2 separate regions of the Homo sapiens genome follow, and region 1 is linked to region 2. Evidence: promoter capture Hi-C in human tissues and cell types (Jung and others, 2019). All regions are on one chromosome and are shown on one strand. Each heading gives the region's core, a stretch centred on a gene start or on the middle of the fragment in contact. The rest is flanking DNA. Distances are from core to core; before and after follow the strand shown.

What was found. The method cuts DNA at HindIII sites, captures the fragments that hold promoters and counts their contacts. A contact is called where the count stands out against the background at its distance.
Region 1: a fragment that was not itself captured here is called in contact with the fragment with the promoter of APOBEC3F in region 2 in 2 of the 25 tissues and cell types used here (H1 embryonic stem cells and spleen).

What each region holds. Positions count from the first base shown.
Region 1 is chr22:39,135,262-39,138,000 of GRCh38, forward strand. The region is part of intron 4 of CBX7 (chromobox 7); the gene reads right to left. Among named protein-coding and RNA genes, the nearest start is that of CBX7, 16 kb to the right of the region's middle. RefSeq lists an enhancer at 1-818. The HindIII fragment of the contact is 3,206 bases long and covers 1-2,739 here.
Region 2 is chr22:39,039,460-39,042,205 of GRCh38, forward strand. APOBEC3F (apolipoprotein B mRNA editing enzyme catalytic subunit 3F) reads left to right here and starts at 1,405. Exons shown (of 7, transcript NM_145298.6): 1 at 1,405-1,518. The coding sequence starts at 1,502. RefSeq lists enhancers at 1,215-1,274, 2,327-2,746. The HindIII fragment of the contact is 19,854 bases long and covers 1-2,746 here.

The sequences.
Region 1 (2,739 bases), core at 228-2,727, 96 kb after region 2:
GACAGGGCTCCACCTGGCCTGCAGATGCACCCCGACCCCTCCAGGGGGCTCCTGGGCTCTGTGATTGCAGCCCGCTCTGCTGATTGCCCGCGACACATCTGGAGCTGGAGGGCAAGTCTGTCCACCCCTGGAGTTTGTAATGTCGGGATTTATCTTATTTACTTGGGGAGAATTTACATGAATCTACAAAAGATTCATGGTGCCAAGATGTTGGGAGACTCTGGATCACTGGGACAGTACCTTCTCCTGCCACCTGCTACCAGAGGTCAGGAGCTCCCAGGAAGATAGTGCAGCCATCAGATGGGACCTGTGAGGTCAAACACCTCCAAGCTGAGGGAAGGGATGACACACGCAGGTCCCACTCACAGTCGTGCCTGTTAACGGCATCACATGTCCCCAGGTGCCGGCTGCTGCAGTGATGGGAGGAGGGCTAAACTGGGAGGGGACTGGGAAAATACTGCAGTGCCTGGGAGGCACATCTGGTAGGCAGCTGACTCAAAACCCACTCCTCCCAGCGGGCTCACAGGCCATCAGAAGCCTAGTATGGGCCAGGCACAGTGGCTCACGCCTGTAATCCCAACACTTTAGGAGGCCGAGGCAGCTGGATCACCAGAGGTCAGGAGTTCAAGGCCAGCCTGGCCAACATGGCGAAACCCCATCTCTACTAAAAATACAAAAATTAGCCGGGTGTGGTGGCAGGTGCCTGTAATCCCAGCTACTTGGGAGGCTAAGGCAGGACAATCATTTGAACCCAGAAGGCAGAGCTTGCAGTGAGCAGAGATCGCACCACTGTATTCCAGCCTGGGCGACAGAGCGAGACTCTGTCTGGGAAAAAAAAAAAAAAAAAAAAAGAAGCCCAGTACATTCTACCATTCTGCAAGGCAGGGTCTTCTACGTCCTTGGCAACCTCATCACGAGAGAACTACAGCTACTAAAGGGACGCGGGTGCCAACAGTCAGGTCCTGGGTAAGCTACCGGCCTCCCTGGGCCTCAGTTTCTTTCTCAGCGAAACAATGAAGAGACTGTAGGAGCCAGCCTCCGAGGAGGGCCCCAACCACACCCACCTCCTGGAATTCACACCTATGCGCCGTCCATTCCCACACCCAGTGCTGTGTTGTGTGACTTCCCAGGCTAGGGCATAAAAGACACTGTGGCTTCTTCCCTGCTCTCTCTCTCAGGTCACCCACTCTGGGAAGCTGGTGGCTGCACTGTAAGGACACTCAAGCAACCCTCTGGAGAGGTCCACATGGTGAGGACCAGTCCCTGTCAACGTCCAGCCCTGACTCGATGGCACGTGAGCAGCCCCCTCGGAGGCAGATCCCGCAGCCCTGGTCGAGCCTGCAGATGACTGCAGCCCAGCCAACACCTTGACTGCAGCCCAGACTAGAACCACTGAAGAACCAGCTAGCACAATTCCAAATTCCTGACCCCCAGAAGCCATGTGAAATAATCAATGTTTATTGCTTTGAGTTGCCATGTTAGAGGGGAAGAGATAACGAACACACCTGCCCTGTAGGCTTAGTATGTGGATGGAGTATATTCATCTGTGAGGCACACTGGGCAGACAGCCTGGCACACAGACGTCCAGGAGATGTTACTTCCCTTCCTAGGCTCAATTCATGCCAAACCCAATGGAACATGCCCACTGCATGAAGGGAGGCCCACCCCCTCTGGCGAAAGCCTCCATGGGTTTTAATCAGGAGTGGCCAAGGACGCTTGACATGGACCACATACAAGTGGACCAAGAATCCTGACTTTCTGGCTTCCAATATCCTGCCTGGTGGGTCTTATTACATTAAGGAGAGCGGGTATTCTCTTCATACCCATTTTACAGGTGAAGAGGCTTACCTACAACCACACACAGGCAGAGCATTCCTTATCCGAAATGCTTGGAACCAGAAGTGTTTCAGACTTCGAATTTTTTTAGGATTTTGGAATATTTGCATTATATATACTAGCTGAGCATCCCCAATCCAAAAATCTGAAATTTAGACTGCTCCAATGAACACTTCCTTTGAACATCATTTTGGTGCTCAAAATGTTTTGGATTCTGGAGCATTTCAGATCTTGTTTTTCTTGTTGGGGTGGGGGGGCGGGGCGGCAGGGGACGGAGTTTCACTCTTATCACCCAGGCTGGAGTGCAATGGTATGATCTTGGCTCCCTGCAACCTCCACCTCCCGGGCTCAAGTGACTGTCCTGTCTCAGCCCCCTGAGTAGCTGGGATTACAGGTGCCCGCCACCATCCCCAGCTAATTTTTGTATTTTTAGTAGAGACAGGTTTTCACCATGTTGGCCAGGCTGGTTTTGAACTTCTGACCTCAGGTGATCCACCCGCCTCGGCCTCCCAAAGTGTTGGGATTACAGGCATGAGCCACCGCACATGGCAGCATTTTGGATTTTGGATCAGGGAGACTCAACCTGTGACTGCACTGCTCCAAGATCCACGTCCCTGTCACTGCAAAGCACTGAGGTCAGGAAAGGCCCCCAAGACCTACGACGTGGGTACTCCGGGATGCTGCAGAGACTTGGGTCCCCAACTGACTGAAGGCTGGAACAGGAGGCCCACTCAAAAATGACACACTTCTAGGGGTCTGACATTCCAAGGCTGTAGTTCTACAATTCTAAGATTCTGTTTCTGGCTGGGCGCGGTGGCTCACGCCTGTAATCCCAGCACTTTGGGAGGCCAAGCCGGGCGGATCATGAGGTCAGGAGATCGAGACCATCCTGGCCAACACGGT
Region 2 (2,746 bases), core at 155-2,654:
AAGCATGGAGTGCAGCCACCCACATGAATATTCATAGCTCCTCCTATAGCCTGTTGAATATGTATGTTTAGCCAACCCCTTCAGCATAAAGCTCCTGCCCCAACCCCTCCTGCTTCTAAATGTCTGTCTCTGGTGTTTCCCAGAGGCTGCTCTTCCCAGGCTGCGGGATGGCTACCTTGCTGCCTGTCACCCTTAACAAGAAATAAAATCTCCTTTCCAAATTTATACATTGTGGCCAGGCGCGGTGGCTCACACCTGTAATCCCGGCACTTTGGTACGCCAAGGCGGGCGGATCTCCTCAGATCGGGAGTTCGAGATCAGCTGACCAACATGGAGAAACCCTGTCTCTACTAAAAATACAAAAATTAGCCAGGCATAGTGGTGGGCGGCTGTAAGCCTGACCAACATGGAGAAACACTGTCTCTACTAAGAATACAAAAATTAGCCTAGGCGTAGGGGTGGGTGCCTGTAATCGCAGTTACATGGGAGGCTGAGGCAGGAGAATCTTTTGAACCTGGGAGGCAAAGGTTGCGGTGAGCTGAGATTACGCCACTGTACTCCAGCCTGGGTAACAGAGCAAGTCTCCGTCTCAAAACAAACAAACAAACAAAAAAACACAAAAAAACAAAAGCAAACAAAAAAACCAAATGCATCCCTTGTGTAATTTTTAGGTCACCGCGCCATGGGAACACGCTACCAGGGGAAGGGAGCTGTGAGACGCGCAGGGAGGCTCCAGACAGGCTGGCCTGGGACACCAGCCACTGCTCTTCCATGACATGGGGACAAGAGGAGGCGAGAGCTCAGCCCACCAGGGAGGAACTCCGGGCAGGAGATGGGGAAGAAGGAGAAGCAGGAAGGAAAGAGCTCAGTGTGGGGGCGCGCATGGCATCCCGGTGGGACATCTGAGGCCCACACCCACCTGCTGTCCCTCCCTCCCACGGTGGCCTCCGAGGGTGAAGGCCTGGGGAGAGGCAGACACCTGGCCCTTTACTCTCCCTCCCTGTCCCCATGGCCGCTGGGTGGGGGCCGTCTCTGGGATGATCCCCGAGGGCAGGATCCGGGAGTCCCTGCGGAGGCATCAGCCTGTCTGTCTTGATGGTGGAGAGGAGGCTCCAGCTGGGCGGGACCACCAGGGGAGGGGCTTGTGCTCTGCTGGCTCAGCCTGGTGTGGACCCACCTCGCGGGCGCTGGCTGCAATGACTTTCTCTTTCCCTTTGCAATTGCCTTGGGTCCTGCCGCACAGAGCGGCCTGTCTTTATCAGAGGTCCCTCTGCCAGGGGGAGGGCCCCAGAGAAAACCAGAAAGAGGGTGAGAGACTGAGGAAGATAAAGCGTCCCAGGGCCTCCTACACCAGCGCCTGAGCAGGAAGGGGGAGGGGCCATGACTACGAGGCCCTGGGAGGTCACTTTAGGGAGGGCTGTCCTGAAACCTGGAGCCTGGAGCAGAAAGTGAAACCCTGGTGCTCCAGACAAAGATCTTAGTCGGGACTAGCCGGCCAAGGATGAAGCCTCACTTCAGGTACCGCTGCCCGCTCTACCCGCTGGGCCCCTCTGCTGCCCCTTCCTGCCTGGTGGCTCTGCTGGGCGTCAGCCCTGGCCTCCCCCTGCCCCAGCCCCAGCCCTGGGCTCCCTCCCCTCTGGCTCCCCTGCCCCCGCCACTCCCAGCCAGGCTCTTTTTCCTGCTCTGTGGTTGCCCCACTGCTGCTTCTGAATAGGCCGCTTCCCCACCTGCCCCAGCCCAGGTGCCCTGCTGAGACTCTCCCCCGCCACCGAAAGTCATGGCAGGGCTGGTGCTCCCGGCCCTGGGAGGGTGCTCCCTCTGTGTTCTTTCCGCCATTCCTGAACTCTGGAACTGGGAGAATTGAACCAAAGGATGATTAGAGCAATGTGGAATTTTGTTCACAGTGCTTTGATGGATTTTCTGTAACATTTACTTTGCTTAAATAGCAAGTCTTAGGAGAGGGTGTGGGGAGGGAATGGTCTCTGAAGCACAAGATAAATCGTATCTTCCAAGGATGTCTCCACTGTGGGCAGAGGAGGATGCAGATGACCCCAAACACACGCTCCTCCTCCACTATCAGCATTCACTGTTTATAAATGACACGAGTAACATGGAATATAGTGGCCGGGTGCGGTGGCTCACACCTGTCATCCCAGCACTTTGGTAGGCTGAGGTGGGTGGATTGCCTGAGGTCGGGAGTTCGAGACCATCCTGATCAACATGGATAAACCCTGTCTCTACTAAAAATACAAAATTAGCCGGGTGTGGTGGCGGGCGCCTATAATCCAGCTACTCCACAGGCTGAGACAGGAGAATCGCTTGAACCCAGGAGGCGGAGGTTGCAGTGAGCCGAGATCGCCCCATCGCACTCCAGCCTGGGCAACAAGAGCCAAATTTCGTCTCAAAAGAAAAAAAAACAAAAACAAAAAACATGGAATATATGGGAAAAAAACTCAATGATCAGGAGAAATGCTATTATTTTAAAATTTAGTAAGAAGAGAGTCTGGTCCCCAATGGCTCCCTCCTGCAAGGCTGGTGACACAGAGACTGGACAGGGCTGGTCTGGTAAGAGGCCCCAGCCCCATCCGTCCCCAGCTCTGTGGCCTGGGCAGGTTACCCCATCTCTCTGCGCCTCTGGCACCTCCTCTGTAAGATGGGAATGGCCCGTGCGGGCCTAGGGCAGCCTCACATGAGCTCACATCCGCGCAGCACTTAGAAGAGTGGCCTGGGCCTCAGAATTCGGTTC